Regions from separate parts of the Homo sapiens genome. Here region 1 is linked to region 2. The links are contacts of gene promoters, found by promoter capture Hi-C in blood cells and fetal thymus (Javierre and others, 2016). All regions are on one chromosome and are shown on one strand. Each heading gives the region's core, a stretch centred on a gene start or on the middle of the fragment in contact. The rest is flanking DNA. Distances are from core to core; before and after follow the strand shown. Region 1 overlaps PCBP3 (poly(rC) binding protein 3). Region 2 holds the start of POFUT2 (protein O-fucosyltransferase 2).

Evidence for each region. Contacts are between HindIII fragments. The CHiCAGO score rates a contact against its expected background, and 5 or more counts as called.
Region 1: a fragment that was not itself captured here is called in contact with the fragment with the promoter of POFUT2 in region 2 in 1 of 17 cell types (M2 macrophages); the score reaches 6.0 in M2 macrophages.

Annotation. Positions count from the first base shown.
Region 1 is chr21:45,876,089-45,882,251 of GRCh38, forward strand. All of the region lies in intron 5 of PCBP3 (poly(rC) binding protein 3), which reads left to right. Among named protein-coding and RNA genes, the nearest start is that of PCBP3-AS1, 43 kb to the left of the region's middle. RefSeq lists an enhancer at 4,487-5,291. The HindIII fragment of the contact is 1,078 bases long and covers 3,787-4,864 here.
Region 2 is chr21:45,284,138-45,290,332 of GRCh38, forward strand. POFUT2 (protein O-fucosyltransferase 2) reads right to left here and starts at 3,758. Exons shown (of 9, transcript NM_133635.6): 1 at 3,604-3,758; 2 at 1,541-1,791. The coding sequence starts at 3,734. LINC00205 (long intergenic non-protein coding RNA 205) reads left to right here and starts at 3,915. Exons shown (of 3, transcript NR_026943.1): 1 at 3,915-4,107; 2 at 5,214-5,301. RefSeq lists a silencer at 3,685-4,214 and an enhancer at 4,369-5,099. The HindIII fragment of the contact is 9,019 bases long and covers 1-5,886 here.

The DNA.
Region 1 (6,163 bases), core at 3,076-5,575, 590 kb after region 2:
GCCCGTGGAGCCTGAGATGTTGTGTGCAGCACCAGGGCACCGATGGAGCGGTCAGGGGCCAGAACCTGCCCTTAGGCAGGCGAGTCCACGTGCATCCATCACAGCCAGGACAGTGTCAGAGCCCAGACTTGACTCAGCTCTCAGGGTGGCCTACCCTGTCTCTCATCAGAGATATTACGAATCCCGAAATGAGCATTTGAAAGAATTGGAACATTTGTAGGAGGCACACTCTTACGTGGTTCCCAAAGGTGGGACTAAGGAACACTGGCACCATGAGGGAGCCTGGCTATGGTCAGGAAAATTCAGCATCTTCCAGACATGAGACCAGTGTGGCTGGGCCGCTGGAGCAGGGGAAGGTGAGCGGTCACTGTTCCCCACTGGCACCTTTGTCTGCCTTGACGCTGAGTAGCAGGGGAGCAGGCTGTTCAGAATGCTCGCCGAGGCCAGGCTGTGTAAGCCCTGGATGGCCTCCGAATGCCGCCTGTGACAGGCAGGAGCATGAAATTCCAGAAGCCTCCCCTGCCCTGGGTAGCCTCAGGGACATGAAGTGCATGTGAGGCTCTCAAGGAGAATGTGGCAGCTAATCTGCCCTGTCATTTCCGCCGTCCTGGCCTCGTGCAGCCTGATGCAGGCACTGAGCTGTTAAACAGGATAAATCAAGTAGGGGCTGCTGCCACCCACCCCGCACTGTGTTCCCTCCCACAGTCACATCCCCCAGACAGCTGAGGCCGTGAGTGCAGCCCTGGACAGAGCACAGCTAACGGGGGTATGGCCAGAGCCGCTGGCTGCGACAGCGCTCGCTGCGGCTGCGAGGACCCCAGATGGCGCTTTGCTGGCAAGGCTTCTCCCGCCTTCTCGGGGCAAGCAGTGGCACACAGGAGAGAGCTCAAGGCGCCTGCTGCCAGCCGCACTCACAGCTGTGTGACCGCCCTTCTACACTCCAAGGCATCTCTATGTTAATATCCAAACCTATTCATCCATCCCCCAGCAAACAAGCCTTACAACTTGGGCCTCACATGACACTTTCAAACGTGGGTCTCTTCCTTTCGGGTCTGACGGGATGTCATTCACTGTTATTTTTGGCATGAAAATAGATGATGGATTACCTCTCTGGTGGTCGGGAACCTAGGCCTGGAGCCAGCTGGTCACAGTTCAGGGTCATCGCACTGTGTCACCTCGTGTAAAACGGAGGAAGAGCTCGCCCTACTGTGTTAGGACAGCCTGGATTTATATATGGAAAAACATGGGGCTGTGGCCCTGTGTGGCCGCTGTTTCATTACACATCACTTCTTACTAGGGCAGTATTCATTTTACTAGCATTCTGTTGATTTGAATATTTTTTTAAAAAAAGAGTAACTGGCAAATTTATCAGAATTTATAGTGGTACCAGTTTTAAACAGATTTTGCCAATTTAATCAATATAAAGATGAAATGGCCAGGTGCAATGGCTCACGCCTGTAATCCCAACACTTTGGGAGGCCGAAGCAGCCAAATCACCTGAGGTCAGGAGTTTGAGACCCGCCTGGCCAACGTGATGAAACCCCATCTCTACTAAAAATACAAAAAATTAGCCGGGTGTGATGGTGGCACGCCTGTAGTCCCAGCCACTCAGGAGGCTGAGGCGGAGGAATTGCTTGAACCTGGGAGGTGGAGGTTGCAGTGAGCTGCTGTACTCCAACCTGGGCAACAGGAGTGAAACTCCGTCTTAAAAAAAAAAAATTAAATGAGGCTTTGATTCTGGTCAAATGGAGTGGGGGTACACCCCCCTGCCCCTCCCACTGAGCACAGCTGGGACTTCTGCACAGAGTGCTGGAGCAGCTCCCTTGGGACCGGGAGGCGGCAGTGGGAGCAGGCTGGAAAGGAGTCCAGCCCAGCAGGGAGCTTCCTGTGTCCTCACTGCCCTTGCCACATGGCCTGGACTCCAGGCAGCCACATACCCAGAAGTGCAGCCACAGAGAAGCTCCGCATTTCTGTCTGAGGATGGAGAGGGAGCTCCTGCTGGTTGGCATTTGCTCCACCTTCCAGTCTCTCCCATCCTCACCCCCAGGCGATCCTGTGGCAGCAGTGGCTTTGAGGGCACAGCAGCCTGACAGGCTGGCAACGCACAGGGGCAGAACTTTTCTCTCCCACCAGAGGACCTGTGGTCTCAGAGAATGAAGGGGCCCTCCCAGGGCCATTTCCCATCCCTGCCCTCCGGGGTGGGGGGGTCCTCCCGGGGCTGTTTCGTGTCTCTGCCCTTCTGCCTCTTGGCCTTAGACAGGATGCAAGTGCAGTAAGTTTCTGGCACTGTGGCAAAAGCCAGGCCCTGGTCAGAAAGCCCTGGAGATCACAGAGAGGGGCGAGTTTGAAAAGGGGATTTCATGAAGTTGTGTGTGCATTCCTGGGCACTGCCTGCCCTCTCTACGTCTGGGTCTGACCACAGACAGTACAGCAAAGGCTTTGACAAGGGGACTGCAGGGTTGATGGCCCCCAGGTCCCAGCCGGGCACTGGGTGGCACACACGTGGCACAGAGCTAAACAGCGGTGCAGAAGCTCTCAGAACAGAACAGACATTGGAGCCACAGCCCACAGAGGCTTTGGAACTAACTAGAACCACTGCCCGATAAAATAAAAATGTCGTGGTTCTGCATAAGATTTAAGTGATAACTGGAGTGTTACGACAATATTCAAACAGACCAGAGGACAACTCGACGTCCGTACTCAGCATAGGAAGAAATAGGAACCCTCAGCCTCTCCAGCTGGGAAATGAGCAACACACACCAACCTGGGATCCTTCCTGGTGGAGGATCCACAAGATCTTCAGAGCAGCTGCGCCACCGTGCTCCAGGAGGAAGGGTGAGCCCTCTCAAAATGAATGGAAAAATAGGAACTCTACGCAGGGAAAGCGAAGGTTTTGTTTGTTTGTTTGTTTGAGTGAGACAGGGTCTCACTCTGTCACCCAGGCTGGAGTGCAGTGGTGCAATCTCAGCTCACTGCAGCCTCCATCTCCCAGGCTCAAGCGATCCTCCCATCTCAGCCTCCCAGCAGCTGCAACCACAGGTGCAGCCACCACACCTGGCTAATTTTTAAAATTTTTCGTAGAGATGAGGTCTCTCTGTGTTGCCCGGGCTGGTCCTAAACTCCTACACTCAAGCGATCTGCCTACCTCAGCCTCCCAAAGTACCGGGTTTACAAGCGTTAGCCACTGCGCCTGGCCAAGGAAATAGATTTAAAGAATAAAATGGAAATTTTAGAACTAAAAAATCTAATAACCAGAATGAAAAATTCATGATGTAGACTCAATAACAATGGAAGTGACAGGGCACAGCGTCAGCAAACACGAGGACAGCTCAGTACAAATGATCCATGCCGAGTGATAGAAAAAGGACTGGGAGAAATGAATGGAGCTTCCGAGACCTGCAGACAATGCAGACACCACAGTACACGTGGTTTTTATGTGCACATGGGATGTTCCCCAAGGCAGGTCATATTCCATGTAAAAAACTAAAGCCTAACAAATTTAAAATAATTTAAATCATATAAAATGTATTTTCTGGCCACAGTAGAATTAAACTATAAATCAATAACCAGAGATAACTGGAAATTTTCCAAATACTTGAAAATCAAAACACACACCTCTAAATAATGCCCTAGTCAAAGAGGAAGTATAAAAAAATTAGAAAATACTTTGAAGTAAGAGAAAATGAAAAAAAACCTATAGGATACTAGTAAATCAGTGCCTCTAGAGAAATTTATAGCATGACAGCATCCATTAGAAAAGAAGAAAGGTCTTCAAACAATAATGTAAGCTTCCACTTGAAGAAACTTTAAAAAAAGAAAACAAAACAAGCAGAAGGGAGTAAATAATCAAGACCCAAACCCAATGAAATTAAAAACAGAACTAAGCCTCTTCACATTGGAGTAGTTCAAATAAAGGAAGGACAGAAACAATCATGGGTTTCAAGAGCTTGCAAAACGGTGGCAGTTCTCTGCTGTCTGCGTTTGTTGTGTGGCGTGAGAGTCCATCCTGGTTTCGTGGCATTTTTCTCTGCATCCTTTTTATTGACAAGACGTTCCTGTCGTGAGTGGTTTTCCTCTGGCCTCTTCTGGGAGCTGGTGGATTTGCAAGTCACGGCCAGCCTTCGAAAGCAGGACTGTTGCCTGGTTCCCCAGTTGCCCTCCTGGAAAGCTCTACCCTGCTGGCCCTGGGCCTCGGAGGGGAGGGGAGCGCCTGGGGCGCCGCGGTCCTGACCCCACACAACTTCTTCTGCCATGGCCCAAACCCAGCCCTGTGCCGCCTCTGTGGGCCACAGGGACCCCCACAGCAGACCCCCAGCAAACCCTCAGTGACTGTCTGAATGAAAAACGCAGGAGTGGGTGGTGTGGGAGAAAATAGGATTACGGTGCTTCTGAGTATTGAGTTTAGAAATCGCTGAATTTCAGAACGTTCCACGAGGCCGTGGAAATTGAGCTGGGCTCAGTGCTCATGGTGTGAATCTGTCTAATCCTTAAATACATACTGCGCCCCCTTGTGGGCCAAGAGTGGTGCTGGGAACTGGGGATTCAGTGGTGAACGGAGGAGACACGTGTGCCCTCTGCCCTCTCGGTGCCAGGGTGGCCCCAGGTGACTGCAGCAGGGCCAGGAGAGACGGGGTTGTAGGTACAGCCTGGTAGGCAATACCCTCCAGAAGAAGGTCCTGATAAGTGGGTGGGAGAACTCACCCTGTCCCTGCCACGGAAGCCAGGGAGCCAGCGGGAGGGCAGGGAGCAGTGACAAACAAGACCAAGGGGGTAGGTGCTGGGCTCTGGACGGGAGGCTCAGGGCCGGGGTTAAACAGCACAGCAGTGGGAAGGTACCCAGGGGCTTCAGCACGGGGTGAGTCCAAGCTTAGAAGCTCACTGGCAGCGTCAGGCAGCTCATGCCCAGCCAAGTGCTCCTGAGTGGACATGCCTGGGCCAGCTGCGGGCCACAGCTGTGGCTGCTTTCCTGGCTGGCCTTCATCAAGCTGAGCGAGTTCCCCTCTATTCCTGTTTTTTTCTGAGCATTTTAATTTTTATCGTGAGTTGGTATGGAGTTTTGTGACAGGCTTTTCTGCATGCATTGATATGATTGTGTGCTTTCTTTAGTCTGTTAATAAGGTAGATTACACAGACAGATTTTCCAACTCTGAGCCAGCCTTGCATCACAGGAAGAATGGTTATAGCATGTAATTCTTGTGGTATATTGCTGAATTCTATGTGTTCATGTTTTTTGTGTGTGAAATTATTAAATCAAGCTAATTAACATATCCATCACCTCACATACCTTTGTTTGTGGTGAGGTTCGAGTGATCCTCCCACCTGTCTCCCAGGAGTTGAGACCACAGGTGCACTCCACCACACCCAACTAATTTTTTCAACATTTTGTAGAGATGGGGTCTATTTTGCCCAGGCTGGTCTTGAACTCCTAGACTCCAGTGACCTGCCTACCTCAGGCAACAGCCTAGGCAACATAGAGAGACCCCATCTCTATAAAGAATTTAAAATCACTCTCAGCAATTTTCAAGTATACATTGTTCTTACCCATAGTCACTGTGCCACACAGCAGCTCCCCAGCCTGTTTGACTCCCGTCTAACTGAACTTGTGCCAGTGACCAACAGCTCCCATTTCCCCCAACCCCCCGCAGTCCCCGACAGCCACCTCCCACCCTCTGCTTCTGTGAGATGCACTTTTTTAGATTCCACATGTGAGATCATGCAGTATTTGTCTTTCTGTGCCCAGTTCATTTTACTTGTTATAATGTCCTCCAGGTTCATCCGCAGTGACACAGATGACATGGCTTCTTTCTGTGTGTATGTCTGTGTGTGACATTTTCTTTATCCGTTCGTCTCTCTATGAACACTTAGGCTGATTCCACCATATCTAGGCTGTTGTGAGTTGTGCCACAATCAACACGGGCCTGCATGTGTCTCCTCACTATAGTGACTTTGGGTATATGCCCTGAAGTGAGACTGCTGGATCCTGTGGTGGTTCTATTTCTAGTTTTTTGAGGAACTTCCGTACCGTTCTCCATAATGACTGTACTAAGTTTCCCATCAGCACTGTACAAGGGTTCCCTTTTGTCCACCTCCTCACCAACACTTAGCTTTTGTCTTTTTGATAATAGCCATTCTAACAGGTATGAGCCGATATCCCATTGTGGTT
Region 2 (6,195 bases), core at 2,508-5,007:
GTTCTGGGGCAGGAACAAAGCGGGAGGGAGCACCGCGCAGGTGAAATTCTGGGGCAGGAACAAAGCGGGAGGGAGCATCGCGCAGGTGAAGTTCTGGGGCAGGAACAAAGCGGGAGGGAGCATCGCGAAGGTGAAGTTCTGGTATCCTTTTTGCTCACTCATGACTGGGGGCTAAGGGCTGCGTGGCCTAAGGGCCTGAGGCCACAGCTGCGGGGGCTTCTTTTAGGCTAGTGGGAGGTGGTGAAGATCCTGCACGCTGGGCGCTATGTCAGCCACATCAGGAGCTCACCGTGTGCAGTCTCTTGGCAGCCTCGCCCTAGGACAGGCACCCAGTTCCTTCCCCACCTCACAGGCGAGGAAACAGCTCAGCAAAGCCCCAGGCTGGTGGATGGCAGGTAAGCGTGAGACCAGCATATGTGCCTCAGAAGCTCATTACACAGCATCTGTCTTCCCAGACCTTCCCAAGCACTTGGATGCCCAAGGCCCAGACCTGTCCGCTTCCCTGTCAGGAAACCCACTGGTACCAAAGGGAGGTAAGGATAGCATCTCTGGGTTCCTATAACCCAATGTTCAGACCGAGGGCTGGCTGCTAGTTAGACCCAATACCCAACCACAGCTTTCATCTTCCAGGACTCACAAGCAAATTTTAAAGTCAACTCAGGAAAGGACGCACTCCAGGAATGCTTTTTACAAGCAGCAGACTTTCTGACTTGGTATCAACAAGGATGTTGGAGGTTACCGCCTGTTGTTGCATGCCCCTAGCACTCACAAGACTGACCTTGACACAGAAAACATTTCAGAGTGACAAGATCTAGGGTGCAACGAGAACCACATCCTTGAAAAATGATGACACGGGAGCCACACTCCTTGGCAGGGAGCAAAGGTCTCTAAGCCCCGAGAGTGGCTGTCGAGTAAGAACTCAACAGATGCTGGAAAGCAGGAGCCTGACTCAAAACTAACTCATTCGTCTTCAAGGCCTCTCAAGTGCAGCAGCAAAGCATCACTTACCTTTATCTCTTCCAAACAACGCAACACAAAAAGCTCTAAATACCTTCATTCTAAGAAGAGCTTTAATTCTTCTCTTAAAATTAACTGAAAAGATTAAGCAACACAAAATTAAACGAGACAGACCTTTATCCCTGGCGCTGCACTGAGACACCACGAAGCATACTCCACACGCAGTGCGTCTTCCTGAACGTAAAACAGCCTTTCGCACAGGGAGCCGAGTCCTGTCACTATAACACCCAGGGGTGGCCGCTTTCTTAGGGTGTAAGGGCGGCTCTAACTGAGGGGGCACAAAGCTCATCCACTTCAGGTCCATTTCCGAGAAACATTTTGGGAAGCTCACTGCAGCGTGGGAAAGGGACTGTGCTCCTGAACGGAGGAGGTGCTGCCACAGGCCTCAGGCAGCAGCACTGGGCACTGGAGGATGCTGGTGAGGCTGGATGCAATCGTAAGCCCAACCTGATGTCTACCTTAGAAATGACTGCCTGGCCCCAGTTAAGCAACCACGGCCTCCCAGCGTGCCGCTCGGCCTCACCTGCGATGAACTGCTCATACTCGATGACGGGGATGTTTTTATTGAGACTTGGAAGATCAAAAAACTCAGACCAGGGAATCCGGACCTGGTGGATGTCAGGACTCTGCCAGTGATAGAGGCGGCCCCATGGAGGCAGGACAAGCACCCACTCCTCCGTCTTCAGCAGAGTCTTCAGGAGAGAGGCGATTCGGATATAGACATCCCTGCGCAGGTTGAAGCCTTCCGGGGGGTTGACGTCATACAGAAGATACCTGAGCAGGGAGAAGGAGGACCACAGGTCTCAAATGCTGAGGTTTCTGCACGGAAAACCCGACTGCTCACAAGTCTCAGCGCGTGGCCCGACTCTAGGCACTTAACAATGGTTCCTAGTTTGTGAAGGCAGTGAGTGGCCTGTTTCTCTATGACCAGTTACTTACGGAGCCTGTAAGCAGAAGCAGCAGACATGCTAACATCGTTTTAACAATTAGCAATAGTTCAACACTAAGGCAGAGGAATCCCAGTGACTGGAACCCAAGAATCAGTACCCACATGGTTCTCAAACTGTTTGGTTTAAAGACCCCTTTACACTGGAAACAATGACTGACGGCTGGTTATGTGCACTATGTCTATTGATACGTCCTATGTTAGACGTTAAAGCTACAAGTATTTAATTCAGCTAAAAATAAGAAGCCATTACATGTTAACAAAAACCACATATTTAAATAAAAAATAAGTGTATTTTAAAAAATGAATTAGAAGAACTGTGATGATGTTCTTAATTTTTGCAAATCTCTTTTGGGTTTGGTGACAGCTGGATTCCCATACCCGTTTCTGCATTCAATCTGTTGTGACATCACAGATCAAGTGGTTTCTAGGAAAACTCCACAGTGCATTCATGAGAAGTGAAAAAGGCGTATAATACTCTGGTACTACTATTAAAACGGCTACAAAAGCTCAGAGATCCAGGACACACTTTAAGATCACTGCCCTAGAGGAAGGACACAAAGCGCCCCAAGGCACAGACAAGTCCCCAAGGCACAGACAAGTCCCCAAGGGCTACAGAAACCCTGTCCCTGGCGCTCTCCTTTCCCTGCTCTGCGCTGGTTTTCCATACTCCCATCGTCGCGAGTGAAGCTGCGTGCAGCGCCCAGGCCTGCGAACGCCACGAGGGGCCGTGCACACCTCTGCGTCCAGGCCCCTCCCGGGGTCCGCTTGGAGATCCCACAGCCACAGGGCGGCCGCGAAGCTCGTCTTGGCCCTGAGAATTCACTGCGGAGCGCCCGCCCGGCACTGACTCCCGGCTCCGCACACCCAGGCCTGGACCCGTGTCACTTGCAGGGGCCTCCGGAGCCAGCCCACGCTCAGCCTGAGCAACCCGGCCCCCTTCCTGGGCTCCCGAGGCTGCGCCCCGGGCCTCGCAGACGACCCCGCCTGCAGACCCGGGCCGCAGTGACGCAGCCTCGACTACAGCCAACCCGCTGGCCCGACCCTGCCCCCAGCCCCCGCCCCATCCCATCCCCCAGACTCCAGCCCGGCCCCGGCCCCTGCCCCTGCCCCTGCCCCTGTCCCGTCCCCGTCCCATCCTTCTTGGCCCCGGCTCCCGCCCCGCCCCCATCCCATCCCTCGGGCCCCCGTTCCTGCCCCCATCCCATCCCACCCCTCCTGGCCCTAGCCCCTGCCCCGCCCCCATCCCATCCCATCACCCTGGCCCCTGCCCCGCCCCCATCCCATCCCATCGCCCTGATCCCTGCCCCGCCCCCATCCCATCCCTCCTGGCCCCTGCCCCCTGCCCCTATACCATCACCCTGGCCCCTTACTCCGCCACATTCCTTGCCCCAGAACCCTGACCCCATCCCATTCCCCTGACCCCTGCCCCCTGACCCCGCTCCATCCCATCCCCCTGGCCCCTGCCCCATAACTCCGCTCCATTCCATCTCCCTGGCCCCGGACCACCCTCCATCCCGTGGGCCTGCCCCTGACCCCATCCCATCTCCCTGGCCCCTGACCCCGCCCCGCCCCCATCCCATCCTCTGACCCTGCCCGGTCCTGGAACCCCAGCGTTGGCACCGTGGACGCGCGTTTACCGTCTGCGGGAAGCCGCCCCCGACAGAATATCGGCCGCCGATTGTCCGGGCCAGAACTCCTGGCCGGAGGCAGAAGCCGGAGGCCAGGACACTGCCCCCAGCAGCAGGAAGACGAAGCTGAGTGTCGCCATGGCCCCGGGCGGCCACGCACTTCCGGCGGCCGCGCCCCGCCCCGGAACCACGCCCCGCCCCCGTGAAATGCGTTCCCAGTAGCCACGGCAACGCCCAGCTCCGCCCTCCCCGCGCATGCGTTATGCGCCATCACCGGCAAGCAGGGGCGGGAGGGGGAACTGCGCGTGCGCAGAGTCTCCGCCCTCCTGACCGCAGCGGCTAGAGGTTCCATTGCAGACCCGGAGGCCGTGGCTGTGGTTCGCGGCGGTGCTGTCGCGGGCGCCCTGGCGCAGCCCACGCAGGGGCTCCTGAGGGTCCGCGAGGCCGGGAGGTCCGGGGGTCGGGAGGTCCCGGGGTCGGGAAGTCGGTGGACCCTGCAGGCCAGTGGGGAGGGTACGCGAGACTGGGGGCCGGGAGGGCTGACGGCTGGTGGCGCGGGGCGGGTCCGTGGGGAGGAGGCCCGGGGCTGGTAGGGGCGGGAGGGCTGGACGGCGGGGGCGGGGCGGAGGAGGGGGTCCGTAGACGGGGTCGGCGCCGGGTGCTCTCGCCCCTCTGGAGCTGGGGTCGGGGCGGGAGCCGCGCATGAGAGCCTGGGTTTCTAGTCGGGGGGCGCCGTCGAGCTCCACACCTGCGGCCTCCTGGGTGCCCCCAACCCTGGAGCCCCGGCGAGGGGGCACCCGGGCTGAGGCCTGGCCCTCCAAGGAGCCCTGGAGGGACTGTGCTGCTAGGGCGCGGGGCTCGATGGGGTGATCTGGAGACCTGGGGGGATCCGGGGCTGCCGCCCCTGCGCTGCCAACCTCCCACCCCGCCCCTTCTGCGAGGCGTTATTAAAGGTCTGGTTTCGGGAGCCAGGTGCGTGCCCGCCGCCGCCGCTCCCCGCAGCCTCCAGGCAGCTCCCGCTGTTCCCCGAGGGCACCAGCACTGGCCGACCGACCTGGCTTGGGGCGCGGCGCTGGCAAACCCGGCCTTCTGAGGGGACGCCACGCTGACTCTAGTGCAGGCAGCCCCCAAAACGGTATAATTGGACGAATTTCTTGAAGGATGCCAGTTACCAAAAAAGAAAATACTAATGCTTATTATCTGTTAAATTTGAGATCAATTTGTTATCAAATTTTCTCACACAGAAAATTCCAGGCCCAGAGGGCCAAGCTGGTGAATCCTACTTAGAGAAGAAATAATAGGAATCCAGCCACTCAGACGATGGACGAGGAGGGGCACTTCCCTGCTCGATGTATGGGCCAGCATTGCCTTGATAGCAAAGTCAGACATCACCAGACAGTAGAACCACAGACCAATGTCTTTCATGAACCAAGACACAGCATTTAAAAAAATTAGCAAATGGAATTTATATCTGCCTATTGTTTACAAAAAAAGCCAAACTTTGTAAAATACTTGAAGAGATTTATTCTGAGCCAAATATGACCCATGACACAGCCTCAGGACGTCCTGAGAACTTGGCCCAAGGCGGTTGTTTTACTGCTTGGTTTTATTCATTTCAGGGAGACATAAGACATCAGTCAGTACATGTGAGGTGTGCATTGGATTGATCCAGAAAGTCAGGACGACTCCAAGTGGAAAGGCCTCCAGGTAATAGGTGGATTCAAAGATGTTTCTGATTGGCAGTTGGTTGAAAGAAGTTACTATCTGAAGGCTTGGAATCAATAGAAAGGAGTGTCTGGGTTAAGAGAAGGGGCTGTGGAGACCGAGGTCCTTATTATGTGGATGAAATCTCATAGGTGTCCGCCCTCAGAGGCAATACATGGCAAATGTTTCCTATTCAGACCTTCAAAAGGCACTAGACTCTCAGCCAGTCTCCTCAGGATCAGAAAAAGAGCTGGAAAGGGAAGGGGAGTCTACAGAATATGAATTTCCCCACAAGACACCGCTTTGCGGGGCCATTTCAAAATTTGTCAAAGAGATATATTTTGGGGTAAAATACATTGATACTTTGAGGGCCTGTTGTCACGTGATGCTATACCAGCGTCAGATTGGAACTTGGTGTCTTGCTGCTATGGAGTCTGCTGTCAGTCTGGTCAGCTGCACCTGAACTCCAAAGGGAGGTGGGTATAATGAGCCATGTCCAATCCCCGTCCCTTCCTGGCCTGAGCTCATTTTTCAGGTTCTTCAGAATCCCCCTGGTGGAGATGAGGGATCCATTCAGTGGGTTGGGGAAGCTTAGAGTTTTATTTTTGATTTACACTATGTGAAGCAGAAATTAAAATACTGTAACCCTGATAGGGTTATTTTAAAGCTGCAGGAATCAAGGCAGGTTGCCGTGGGTAAGAGGATAGACAGGCAGGTCATGTAGCAGGACGAGCTGCGGACAAAACCCCTCAGACACCAGGTTAAGGAAGGATTTGGCTTTATTCGGCCGGGAGCTTCGGCAGACTCGCGTCTCAAGAACCGAGCTCCCCGAAAACAGAGTTCCTGGCCCTTTTAAGGGCTTACACCTCTAAGGGGTCCACGTGAAAGGGTCGTGAT